4 separate regions of the Homo sapiens genome follow, and regions 2, 3 and 4 are each linked to region 1. The links are contacts of gene promoters, found by promoter capture Hi-C in human tissues and cell types (Jung and others, 2019). All regions are on one chromosome and are shown on one strand. Each heading gives the region's core, a stretch centred on a gene start or on the middle of the fragment in contact. The rest is flanking DNA. Distances are from core to core; before and after follow the strand shown. Region 1 holds the start of MYO10 (myosin X). Region 2 overlaps RETREG1 (reticulophagy regulator 1). Region 3 has its middle 78 kb from the start of LINC02111. Region 4 overlaps RETREG1 (reticulophagy regulator 1).

What was found. The method cuts DNA at HindIII sites, captures the fragments that hold promoters and counts their contacts. A contact is called where the count stands out against the background at its distance.
Region 2: a contact is called between a fragment that was not itself captured here and the fragment with the promoter of MYO10 in region 1, in 2 of the 25 tissues and cell types used here (mesendoderm cells and thymus).
Region 3: a fragment that was not itself captured here is called in contact with the fragment with the promoter of MYO10 in region 1 in 1 of the 25 tissues and cell types used here (aorta).
Region 4: a fragment that was not itself captured here is called in contact with the fragment with the promoter of MYO10 in region 1 in 1 of the 25 tissues and cell types used here (H1 embryonic stem cells).

Annotation. Positions count from the first base shown.
Region 1 is chr5:16,934,549-16,937,720 of GRCh38, reverse strand. It overlaps MYO10 (myosin X), which reads left to right and starts at 1,433. Exons shown (of 41, transcript NM_012334.3): 1 at 1,433-1,933. The coding sequence starts at 1,913. The HindIII fragment of the contact is 7,585 bases long and covers 276-3,172 here.
Region 2 is chr5:16,490,682-16,493,853 of GRCh38, reverse strand. The region is part of intron 3 of RETREG1 (reticulophagy regulator 1); the gene reads left to right. Among named protein-coding and RNA genes, the nearest start is that of ZNF622, 26 kb to the right of the region's middle. The HindIII fragment of the contact is 5,761 bases long and covers 1-3,172 here.
Region 3 is chr5:17,307,515-17,310,686 of GRCh38, reverse strand. No RefSeq gene overlaps it. Among named protein-coding and RNA genes, the nearest start is that of LINC02111, 78 kb to the left of the region's middle. The HindIII fragment of the contact is 7,473 bases long and covers 1-3,172 here.
Region 4 is chr5:16,610,433-16,613,604 of GRCh38, reverse strand. All of the region lies in intron 1 of RETREG1 (reticulophagy regulator 1), which reads left to right. Among named protein-coding and RNA genes, the nearest start is that of RETREG1-AS1, 3.9 kb to the left of the region's middle. The HindIII fragment of the contact is 6,881 bases long and covers 1-3,172 here.

The sequences.
Region 1 (3,172 bases), core at 184-2,683:
CATTGCACAATATCATTAACTAATTTACACCTTGACTCTTTCTAAAGGGAAGTGAGGTGGGAGCAATGATATTAATGGTGAAGAACTGGACTGGGATAAGTTACAAACATGCTTGACTTTCCCCATAAGGATTACAGAAGGATGTTTCATTCATTCATTCATGCTGTGAGACAGCCTGGGGATACTCATCTTAAAGCACAGTCCTTCCCCAACAGTCTTAGGAATAAATCCTAGAGTGGGCATCTAGCCCAGTGGTTACGGGGAGCTTGGGTGGGGTGAGTGGAGTAGCATCTTTGGGAAGGGTTCCTTCCCCTGGAAGGTGTGACTTTGTGAGCTGAGTTTTAAAGGTTGAGTAGCAGTTGGCAAATTCCCTGGAGAGAGCATCTCAAATCTTTTGTGCTGAAGAACCAGCCATTTTTGTTCCCAGTCGGCCAGGTACCAATACACTGCGGCGCCAGGTGTGACTCACCACGTGAGTCTGACAACACCCAAACTGGTTTATACTCGGTTCAAAGAGTCCACTGATCATGTGCTTGGATGTCGTGGCATTATTAAATTGCTACAAACGTTTACTCTTAATTTCTCTACTTGTTACAAGCTTTCGTTCAGCACAGGACCAGGTAGCACCTGAGGGGCACCTGGAAAGCAGATTGTTCCAGCCTGCGTTCTAACAAGGTTCCCAGGTGACCCTCGCACAGCATAAAGTTAAAAGAACTGCCCTAGGGGAAACGGGACTCAGTGCCAGGTGGGTTTGATCATTCGTCCATCTCAGTGCCATCTGCCATCTCTGCTTCCTTGAGGTCTAGAAAAGGGTTACATTTTTAAAGGTGATATTGGCCACGTCCCCTTCCAGTTTCAAAACTACATTTCCCCGCTGTTACGCAAACGTCTTAAGCAAACCCGACTGCAGGACAGAAAGTCAACACGGGAATGCAGCTTCCAGAAATTCTGATTAGCCTCCGTCTTCCGCTTTGATCTGGCCCCGCAGCCCCGGCAGCTCCGCTGACCGCGCTTCCTTCCCGAGATTGCTAGTCTACCGGGCTGCATTAATGAGATCCGTGTTGAGCCGGTTCCCGGGTCTGCTAAACATGAAAGGCACAGAAGCCCCCAGTCCCTTCTCCTCCCCTCTAAGTGATTGTTTAGTCTCTCTCTGCAGAGGGAAGAGTTAAATCCCCTCCCCACGCCTACGTGGGAAGACCTGGGGAAACACGCGGCCCCCTCCCGGGTCCGCTAACGAGCCTGCGGCTGCTTCGGGCTTAGAGTGGGCGGGGCCTGGTCGGGAAGGGGGCGGGGCGCTCCGCCCGGGCGGGGCCAGACGGTGTGGTTGGCGGAGGGCCAAGCTCCTGGGGGCGGGGCCGCGAGCGGGAGGGCGGGGCCGGCTGCGGGAGGGCGGGGCCGGCTGCGGGAGGGCGGGGCGAGGTCGCTGGGCTGTAGTCCCGCGGGCGAGAGCTGGCTGAGCCGCGGCGCGGGACTGCTCACCTCCAAGCGCTCGCGCGGGGATCGCGGCTCCTGCTCACTTTGCGGCCCGCTGTCCTCCTGCCCGCCCCGAGGGCCCCCGGCCGGAGCGCAGAGGGAGGGGGCCGCGCTCGCCAGCACCCCGCCGCCTTCCCCCGCCTGGGGGAAGAATGTGCCACCAGCTGTTCTCCGCTTGCGAGCGCTGCGCCCAGTAGTGAGGAACTTGGAGGAAGAAGAGACAAAGGCTGCCGTCGGGACGGGCGAGTTAGGGACTTGGGTTTGGGCGAACAAAAGGTGAGAAGGACAAGAAGGGACCGGGCGATGGCAGCAGGGGAGCCCCGCGGGCGCGCGTCCTCGGGAGTGGCGCCGTGACACGCATGGTTTCCCCGGACCCGCGGCGGCGCTGACTTCCGCGAGTCGGAGCGGCACTCGGCGAGTCCGGGACTGCGCTGGAACAATGGATAACTTCTTCACCGAGGTAAGTGCGCTCCCAGTCCGACCTGGCCTCCGGAGCCCAGGGAGAGAGGCGTCTGCCCACCACGCCGCGCGCCCTGGGTACTTTTTCCTAAGCCCTGGAAGGCGCAACTTTCTGGGAGTCTCCTGAAATCACCCCCCATCCCCCCGCGGAGTCTCTGATGAGTAAGCCCGGGCAGGTTTTGTTTCGTCCTGTCCCGCGCTCGCATTTTGCTCCGGGAGGTAGCGAAGGTGCGTTTCCGTTTGCGTGGGTGGCTGGCTCTCGGGGCGCCCTGGGACACCCGCGCCAGGTGAGGCGGCGCGCGCCGGGGCGCGGGCGGGGCGATCCGCCCGCTCGACTGCCCGGGTGCAGGAAGCCCAATAAAATGTTCAGCGGGGACCTGCCTTTCTCCAAGAAAGGTCTTGTCTGGTATTTCCTTTGCAAAACGTGCGGGCTTCCTGTGCAGGGGTTCAAACACTTCCAGAGGAGACGGCTTAATGAAGTGTGAGAAGGAGAGGCAAGGGTTTAATCGGTTACTTTGCTCGCCGAGAAGTGCTCTTTTAAGGCTTGGGATAACTCCAGACCCTGGGATCAAATGATCATGTATTTGTGTAGAGTGTCCATGCAGATTTTGAATTCGAATGTAAAGAAAATTCGTTTAGGGCAAACAGTGGCTATTTTAATAGATGAAACGGATGCCCTCTTTAGGGTCGTTGAGGGTGGGACACTGAAACTTAACTTGAGAACCCTTTTTCCCCCTTTGGGATCGAGACTTACTGTGGTTTCTTGGCTCCCTTTCCTTTCTTGGTTGTGTTTATTTAATAAATTCTGTTTAAGTTTGAGGTTTGAAGTGGCTCAAAGTAAACTTAGTTGACTTGAGAGAGTCTGATGTGATTTTCGTTGAAAGCCAGGGAATGTTTTCTGAGTGCAGAACCGCTTTGGAGTCTTCCAGCAAATCAGATTGATGAGGGCTTGCCTCTGTGTTAGCCGACTTGGTTTATCTGATTTAATTGGATATAATATTTCAAGTCATTCTGCTTTCTGCATGCTCACTGACTGTATTCTCAGACAGCTATTCATACTGGCCAAAGTGATAAATGCATTCTTGTTTAGTAGTCATATCTAGTTTTTAAAAGTGGTGTTTCAGATGTGATACCCACATTCATTGTGGAAGGAAGACTAGAAAGGAATTATCCATCAATACATATTTTTCCTTTTCTTAAAAAAAGTGAAATATATATAATTGTGAGACGCTCGCATTTT
Region 2 (3,172 bases), core at 194-2,693, 440 kb after region 1:
TGAGTTGTATATACCTGGTGCTCAGGACCAGTGTGGTGGGTACCATCTCTAAAAAGCAAAATTAGGAACAATATTGTTAATGACTTTTTTTTTTGTGCTGTAGGAAACATATTTTTTAGTATCCTCACAGGTTTCATATAAGTAGGCCAAATGTTGCAATGCAGGGAAGGGACATTTACTTTTGACTCCAACTACAGTAAACCCTGGGTTGAAATTCATCAGAAATTGTGGATCTTCAGTGGAATGCAAGAAAAGACTTATATCTAAATGAGCCAGCCTGCTTCACAATAACAGTTTTGTTTTCCTTGAGGAGTGTTTCTTGACTATCTGATATTATCTGTCCTTCAGGGATAAAGTAGAAATATTTTCTGCCCTCAGGGACAGTGATTGAAGCAAATCTTGGCATTCACAAATGAAAGGGTGTTGAATCTCCTGCAGGTCTCAAGTAGGTGCTTGTCCTATGCTAGTAATGGAATTTGCATTACTCATGCCCTGGGCTTATGAAAGTCTAGTTATTAAAATGTTAAAATTAAAAACGCTGAAAAATGACTTATACTTGGCATCTTGTTCATAGAAACTTGAAACTGTAATAAATACTATGATGGGTAGTTGAGTGTCAGCCTCCCAAATGATCTAGGTGGATTGGATAATTGATGATCACCTGGAGAAGTAGCAGTGCTCAGTTTGAGATAGGAGGTGGAAAGGGTCAATCGCAAAAGTAAGTAGCTGATCTCTGAGTCGTTTTAAACTTGATATAAAAAAAGGGAGAGCCCCAAATAGAACACTAAGTTGCTCTGAGGAAGATGGGGCTCTCCGGGCAGAAAGCTTCTCCAGGCAGAAAAAGCCAGCACTCACTGGCGCCTTCTGGTCCCTGGCCTTGGGAGGAGTCGCTCACGTGGCTAATTGGCCTGAGAAAGTGAACGCTTCAAGTTGAGTGCGATGTAATTTCTTAATCTTGTGTTTACTCTTTTTAATCCTCTAGTTGACAAATCTTATTTGCGTTGTCATGGTTCTAATTCAGTGAGTGCTCATGCAGAGAAATATATCTGTTTTTATTTTGTTTCTCTGCCTACATACAGTCATATGCAAGCACCTACACACAGAGGAACATAATAAGTATCCACAGGATTAAAAAAAATTCTAACACATTACACTAAGAAATGTTAAAATCTGTAACCAGATACTGACTGACCTTTCTAAGAAAAATTCGACAGGAATTAGCATCAACAGATGTCCACTACCAGTAGAGAGCATGAGACCCTTAGTCACTAGCTGAGAATGAAAGGTCTCCAAGCCAAAGCATATTTATAGGTGTGATGGTTGCAGCAGCTGTTTGTCATGGTTGCCAGGTGACGAGTTATAACAAATCCTTTTTTTTTTTTTTTAAGTTTGTCAATATGGAATGGTGACTTAGCAAACTTTCTGAAAAATATTGTTTGGCTTCAACTTCCATTTCTTATAAATTGAAAATAAAATAATGAGTAGTGTGAAATAATGTATACTTTCTGGAGGTATTATAACAGAAATCAAAACATCTTTGGAAATGATTATTGCACTATAAATTCATAAGGATGTGAAAAAGTTAAAACCTAACAAGAATGGTGTGTGTGTGTGTGTGTGTGTGAGAGAGAGAGAGAGAGAGAGAGAGAGAGAGGACAACACTGTCTGAAAATGTTCTCCAGCGGGGTGCAGTTGCCCTACAAAAACTTGAAAAGCAAAACCAAAAAGGGAGTCATTTTTCTCTGATATTTCATGTGAAGGTTGGATATTCGTCAGGGCCCAGTTCTGTTCTCTACTGGTATCACAAATGCTGGTGGGCCATGTGGGAACAGTGCCCGCAGGAGATACTCATGGATCCAGGGATCCCCAAGTCACACATTAAGGCTCAAGTTTTGCCCGCAGAAATCTCATATGAAATACCGATTTTCAGTTCCAGAAAGTCTTGGAATATATGAAGCATCTTTCTTTCTTTCTTCCTTTCTTTCCTTTCTTTCGTAGAGACAGGGTCTTGCCATGTTGTCTAGGCTGGTCATGAACTCTGGGGATCAAGGGATACTCCCGCCTTTGTCTCCCAAAGTGCTGGGATTACAGGTGTGAGCCACTGTGCCTGGCCCGTATTTCCTAATTAGCTAATTTTGAAGGCATTTTAACTGCCCATTTGCAAGAAAGAACAAAACAAAACTCTTCCCTATAGATGACAGTTGTTTTCTAGATTTTTAATAGGACTTTTTGTCTATTATTTTGTATATTTTTATACATATGAGGGAATGCATGCTAATTATTACCAACACGTAATGTATAGAAACATTCGGATAAGTGAATTAAAAACATGGTGCCACCAAATAACCACTGTTAATTATTTTTGATATTTTCTTCTTTGGATGTTTACTGTTTATATTCATTCAGTATTTTTATGTGCCTCATAGATGTCAAGCTCTGTTAGCTACTGAAGACAGAGCACTGTCCAAGAATTCCTTCATGGGATTTAAAGTCTCATAGGGAGTCAGTGTTACAAATGTCATAAATTAATTGCAATTCATAGTTGCCCTGAAAGAACGTTACCAGATGCGACGGTCGTGGTCGGTAACCAGGAGATCTGCTGTGTTTCAAGCCCTTTTCAGCCTCAGTTTTCTCTTGGGTAAAATGGAGATAACCCTGCCTTGCAGGGTATCGTAATGGGATGGGGTCCTAGGGGGATCATGTGGAGGACATTGGGACAGTGCGGGCAGAGTGCTTAACATAGTGCCTGGCACACAGGGAGAGCTTAGCAGATAGTTGCCATGGTCATGGTTATTATGGGCACGTGTTGTAATTGAAGTTTGTGAAGTTGGGTTCATGATTATGGAATCACTTTGTGGGTACTAATTTAGGAACAGCTGGAGGGGTTCAGAGAGAAAATAAGAATCTAGATGCCTTAGGACCAAGGAGTTTCACCTGGGAACCAAAGCCGCTTTTTAACTATTTTGATTTCTATTTGTGTAGCTTGGCATTTAGGGATCCATAATCCTGCCTGTGGCACTGCCCTAATGTGCTTCCCTACTCATCTTTGCAATGGTCCCCATGTTCCAATCCGGAGAGTGTTTTTTCTGTATCTCGCCCCACATTAGGAGCATTCCCAGTTCTATGCATTACTTCCCTATTCCATTGTGGATTCATTCTGTGACCTTGAACA
Region 3 (3,172 bases), core at 224-2,723, 370 kb before region 1:
TAAGAATCGTTTCCTCAAAAAGCTTGGGATATATCTTAGGATTCACTCTCGCCCACATTTCACAAAATTATACTAAGCAACAGAATTTCATGTTTAGAAGAGATTTTCTCAGCTTTCTTCTTCTTTTGACCTGTCACATGATCAGGGTGGAGGAAGAATTAACTGACCTGACCTAGGAGGATTTTCTATTCATTTAAATTCATAGAGTTCGTGTCCTTTGCCAAACAAATGTGCATAACAAGTAAAGTATAGAATGGGTCAGAGAAGCCATCTGGTCTCACCTTCTAAATTTACCAATGAGAAAATTGAGGCCCACAGAGATTGAAATCCTCTCCTGAGTAAAATAGTCAGAATCAAAAATGAAATCTAATGATTCCCAGATGGTTGTTTCTTCCACTATAACATCATATTATTCTCCTGCATTATCATTTAACTTTCTGTTTACCTGTCTCATCTTGCCAACTAGATTGTCTTTAGTTTCATTCCAAAACTATCTAAACGGCATCCTCCATTTCCAGGTGGCAGTAAAAGATTAAAAAGTACCTCCTGGCCAGGCACAGTGGCTCACGCCTGTAATCCCAACACTTTAGGAGGCCGAGGTGGGTGGATCACCTGAGGTCAGGAGTTCGAGACCAGCCTGGCCAAACTGGTGAAACCCCGTCTCTACTAAAAATACAAAAATTAGCTGGGTGTGGTGGTGGGCACCTGTAATCCCAGCTACTCGGGAAGCTGAGGCAGGGGAATCACTTGAACCCGGGAGGTGGAGCTTGCAGTGAGCCAAGATTGTGCCATTGCACTCCAGCCTGGGCAACAAAACAAGACTCCATCTCAAAAAAAAAAAAAATTCCTTTTCTTTAGAAAATTCTACGCCTTTATGGTATCTGTGATGGTTAATGGTTAATTTTATGAGTCAATTTGGCTTGTCCATGGGATGCCCAGATAGCTGATTGAACATTATTTCTGGCACATCTGTGAGGATGTTTCCTGAAGAGATTATCATTTACATTGGTGGGCTGAGTAAAGCAGATAATCCTCCCCATTGTGCTGAGCATCATTCAGTCCACTGATGACCTCAATAGAATCAAAGGGTGGAGGAAGATTGGATTCCCTCTCTTCCTTCCTGGTTGAGCTAGGGCACGGATCTGCTTGCAGTGCTCCTGGTCCTGAGGCCTTTGAACTACACCTCTGGATTTCCTCGGTCTCCAGCTTGCAGACAGTAGACCTTAGGTCTTCTCAGCCCCTATAGTCACATGAGCCAATACCTTATAATAAATCTCTTTATATTTATATGTTCTGTTTCATTGGAGAACCCTGGCTAATATAGTACCCATGATGCCTGATGTTGAAGAAAACTAAGACTCAATACTGATGTTCATCCATACATTTATTCACCAAATATGTACTGCACACCTGCCCTGTGTAGGGCATTGTTTAAGGCATAGCAGTGAATAAAAATAATAAAATTTCTAGGCCAGGTGCAGTGGCTCATGTCTGTAATCCCAGCATTTTGGAGGCCAAAGTGGGAGGATCACTTGAGCCCAGGAGTTTCAGACCAGCCTGGGCAACATGGCAAAACTCTGTCTCTACAAAACAAACAAATAAAAATTAGCCTGTAGTGCCAACTACTAAGGAGGCTGATGTAGGAGGATCACTTGAGCCCAGAAAGCTGAGGCTACAGTGAGCCAAGATTGCACCACTACACTCTAGCCTGGGGGACAGAGTGAGACCCTGTCAAGAAAAGAAAGAGAGAAAGAAAGAAAAAAGGAAAGAAAGAAAAGAAAAGAAAGAAAGAAAGAGAAAGAAAGAGAGAAAGAAAGAAAGAAAGAGAGACAGAGGGGGAGGGAGGGAGAGGGAGAGAGAGAGAGAGAGAGAGACTTTTATTCTAGGTTTATTCTTTCTTCTTGTTTTGTTTTCTGTTTGTTTGTTTGTTTGTTTGAGATGGAATCTCACTCTGTCATCCGGGCTGGAGTGCAGCGGCAAGATCTCGGCTCACTGTGACCTCCGCCTCCTGGGTTCAAGCGATTCTCCTGCCTCAGCCTTTCGAGTACCTGGGATTACAGGCGCCCGCCACTATGCCCAGCTAATTTTTTTGTATTTTTAGTAGAGACTAAAAGTTTCACTATGTTGGCCAAGCTGTTCTCTAACTCCTGACCTCATGACTCACTGGCCTCGGCCTCCTAAAGTGCTGGGATTACAAGTGTGAGCCACCACACCCAGCCTGTTATTATTATTGAGGTAAAATTCATATAACATACAATTAATTTTAAAGTGTGCAATTCAGTGGCATTTGGTACATTTGCAGTGTTGTTCAACTACCCCCTCTCTCTAGTTCTAAAATATTTTCATTGCCCCAAAAGAAAACCAGGTACCCACTGGTAATAAAGAAAAGCATGCAATATGAGACCTTTCGTGTTGCATTTTTTTCACTCAGAATGATGTTTTCCAAGTTCACCCATGTTGTAGCATGTATCAGTACTTCTTTTCTTTACTGCTAAATAATATTCAGTTGCATAGATATACCAAAGTTTGCTTATTAATTCATCCATTGATGAACATTAGGCTGTTTTCACCTTTTGGCTATTGTGAATAATGCTTCTATGAAAAGTCATGTACAGGTATTTATCTGAGTACTTGTTTTCAAGTTTATTCTTTTTACTCCCCCTCCTTAATCCATTTCTGGATCTGTTTATAAGTCATATTTGAAATTTTAAAAGATGTTTTAGATGACCCCACAGTGGTGAAGAATCAAATATATTTAAGCCCCTAAATGAGTGCCTGGCACATAAGCAGTATGGTGATTCCTCAAAGAGCTAAAAGCAGAACTGTCATTCGACCCAGGAATCCCATTACTGGGCATATACCCAGAGGAATATAAATAATTCTGCTATAAAGACACATGCACGCGAATGTTCATTGCAGCACTATTCACAATAGCAAAGACATGGAATCAACCTAAATGCCCATCAGTGATAGACTGGATAAAGAAAATGTGGTACATATACACCATGGAATACTATGCAGCCATTAAAAGGAATGAGATCATGTCTTTTGTGGAAACATGGATGGAGCTGGAGGCCATTATCCTTAGCAAACTAATGGAGGAACAGGAAACCAAATACCACATGTTCTCACTTATAAGTGGGAGCTAAATGATAAGAACTCATGAACACAA
Region 4 (3,172 bases), core at 271-2,770, 320 kb after region 1:
TTTTAGGAGTCTGAATTTGACTCAAAAGCTTCAACATTTATTACCTGCCCATTATCTGCAAGATTTTGGGCAAAAATTGTGACACAGCCGTAACCAATGGGTATAACTAAAAGTTGCATGAATTAAGTGTGGTGGAAGATTCAGGAAAGGATAATTCATTTTGATATGGTTTTGGGGAACGTGGTATTGTGGATGGAAGAGATTGTGGGGTTCTTAATAAGGAGATCATGCTTAAACCTCAGTGGATAAGAATGATTTGGGAGATCTAGTAGATGATCAAGAGCATTCTAACCCTGAGGAATACAATGAACACAATAGCATCTTGAAGGTGTACCTAATATTTCAACCACTACACAGTAAACAGATGCAATGGCAGCATGGGCTGGTAGAAAATGTAGTGGGAGATAAGGTTGGCTAGGTGGTTTGTGGGGGCAGTAGTTGCCTCAGATGCTATGTTGTGTGTTTGGATTTGTTTTTTCTGTAGGCAACAGGGACCAAAAAAAAAAATACTTTGTAGAAGTATCCACAAATAATTTAATGGATAAGTACACTGTGGTTCATTTATTTATTATAAATTGTGATACCATATAACAATGAAAATACAGCTTTAGCAACAACAGGGATGAATTTTACAAATGTAATTTTGGTCAAAAGATGCACAAAGTAATATATGCTGAATGATTCAATTAAGTTTTAAATGGTGCAGGAACTGAACAGGATTGGTTAGGGATACACACATAGGGGATAAAACTACAAAGAAAATAAAAGACATTCTCGAATCCGAGACGTGCAGGCACACACACACACATATGCATTCTTATCTATGGTATATTTTATGAAAAATACTGAAATATGAAAAAATGCTAAAAAATGATATTCATGAGAACTCAGAGGAGTTTGGTAAAATAGAGGCCACATAGAGTGCCTGTCTCAAAAAGCAGGGTTTCCACAACTGAAGTAGATTGGGTAACAGTCCCATAGTTTTGTGGTGATGAGGGGCCTCAGATAATACTATCTCACTCATTTCACCAATGAAGAACATGTTTTTAGAATTTTTTCCTTCATTTAAAATTTTATTTATTTAAAAATTAACTAACATAGCCTTACAGTTCAGATGTTTAAATGTACAGAAGGGTAAACATTTTGATGTCTTCCCACGCCTGTCCCTGTCTACGCAGTTTCCTCTCAGAAGCAACCCATGTTGTACTTGTAAGCACATCCTGAAATGGAATGAGCCCAATGTAATAGAAAATGTTGGTTTTTTTTTAAATATCAACTTTTTGTGGTTTACCACCAATAAAATGCCCATACTGTAAGTATACAGTCAAATGTATCATATGTGCCTGTGTAACCATACTGGCAGTTGAGATCTAGAATATTTCATCACCCTTAAAGGCTTCTTTGCATCCCTGTTCTATCAGCACCCACCCCTGGGGACTGATCTGTTTCTGTCACTGTTGACTAGGTTGGACTTCCCTAAAGCTTTGTATAAATGGTGTTATTTAGGGTGATAGGGTGATGTCCTTTTTTTTTTTTTTTTGAGACGGAGTCTCTCTCTCTCTCCCAGACTGGAGTGCAGTGGTGCGATCTTGGCTCACTGCAACCTCCACCTCCTGGGTTCTAGCGATTCTCCTGCCTCAGCCTCCCGAGTAGCTGGGACTACAGGCACATGCCACCAAGCCTGGCTAATTTTTGTATTTTTAGTGGTGACAGGGTTTCACCATATTGGTCAGGCTGGTCACGAACTCCTGATCTCAGGTGATCTGCCTGCCTCAGCCTCCTAAAGTGTGTGATGTCTTTTGTGTCTGGCTTTGCTTACTCAGCGTAGTTTTGTGATTCATCTCTGCTGTGTGTATCAGTTATTTGCTGCTTTGTATTGCTGGGTAGTGTACCACTTTGATGATGTACCACAATTTGTTTATCCATTTGCTAGTTGATGTTCCTTCAGGTAGTTTTCATGTTTGACTATTATGAATAAAGCTATTGGAAAACATCACGTAGAAATCTTTGTGTGAAGTGTCTGTTTTTGGTGAGGAAAGTGGTAAGCCCTGATGGTTGCCTTGGATAGGCACAGAATGGAGTGAAAGGTCCGTTTCCTAAGTCTTGCTGATCGCTGTATTGAAATTTAATGGCTTATGATGCAGCTCCTCTTTTGGGCATGTTACATCTGCAGCCTAGAAAGCGTCTCTGATGTGATTTTTTTTTTTATTCAAGTTCTAGGGTACGTGTGCACAACGTGCAGGTTTGTTACGTATGTATACATGTGCCATGTTGGTGTGCTGCACCCATTAACTCATCATTTACATTAGATGTATCTCCTAATGCTATCCCTCCCCACTCCCCCGACCCCATGACAGGCCCTGGTGTGTGATGTTCCCCTTCCTGTGTCCAAGTGTTCTCATTGTTCAGTTTCCACCTATAAGTGAGAACATGCAGTGTTTGGTTTTTTTGTCCTTGTGATAGTTTCCTGAGAATGGTTTCCAGCTTCATTCATGTCCCTACAAAGGACATGAACTCATCCTTTTTTATGGCTGCATAGTATTCCATGGTGAATATGTGCCACATTTTCTTAATCCAGTCTATCATTGATGGGCATTTGGGTTGGTTCCAAGTCTTTGGTATTGTGAATAGTGCCGCAATAAACATATGTGTGCATGTGTCTTTATAGCAGCATGATTTATAGTCCTTTGGGTATATACCCAGTAATGGGATGGCTGGGTCAAATGGTATTTCTAGTTCTAGATCCCTGAGGAATCGCCACACTGACTTCCACAATGGTTGAACTAGTTTACAGTCCCACCAACAGTGTAAAAGTGTTCCTATTTCTCCACATCCTCTGCAGCACCTGTTGTTTCCTGACTTTTTAATTATCGCCATTCTAACTGGTGTGAGATGATATCTCATTGTGGTTTTGATTTGCATTTCTCTGATGGCCAGTGATGAGCATTTTTTCCATGTGTCTTTTGGCTGCATAAATGTCTTCTTTTGAGAAGTGTCTGTTCATATCCTTCGCCCACTTTTTGATGGGGTTGTTCGATTTGTTCTTGTAAATTTGTTTAAGTTCTTTGTAGATTCTGGATATTAGCCCTTTGTCAGATGAGTAGATTGCAAAAATTTTCTCCCATTCTGTAGGTTGCCTGTTCACTCTGATGGTGTGATTTGGTTTTGGACC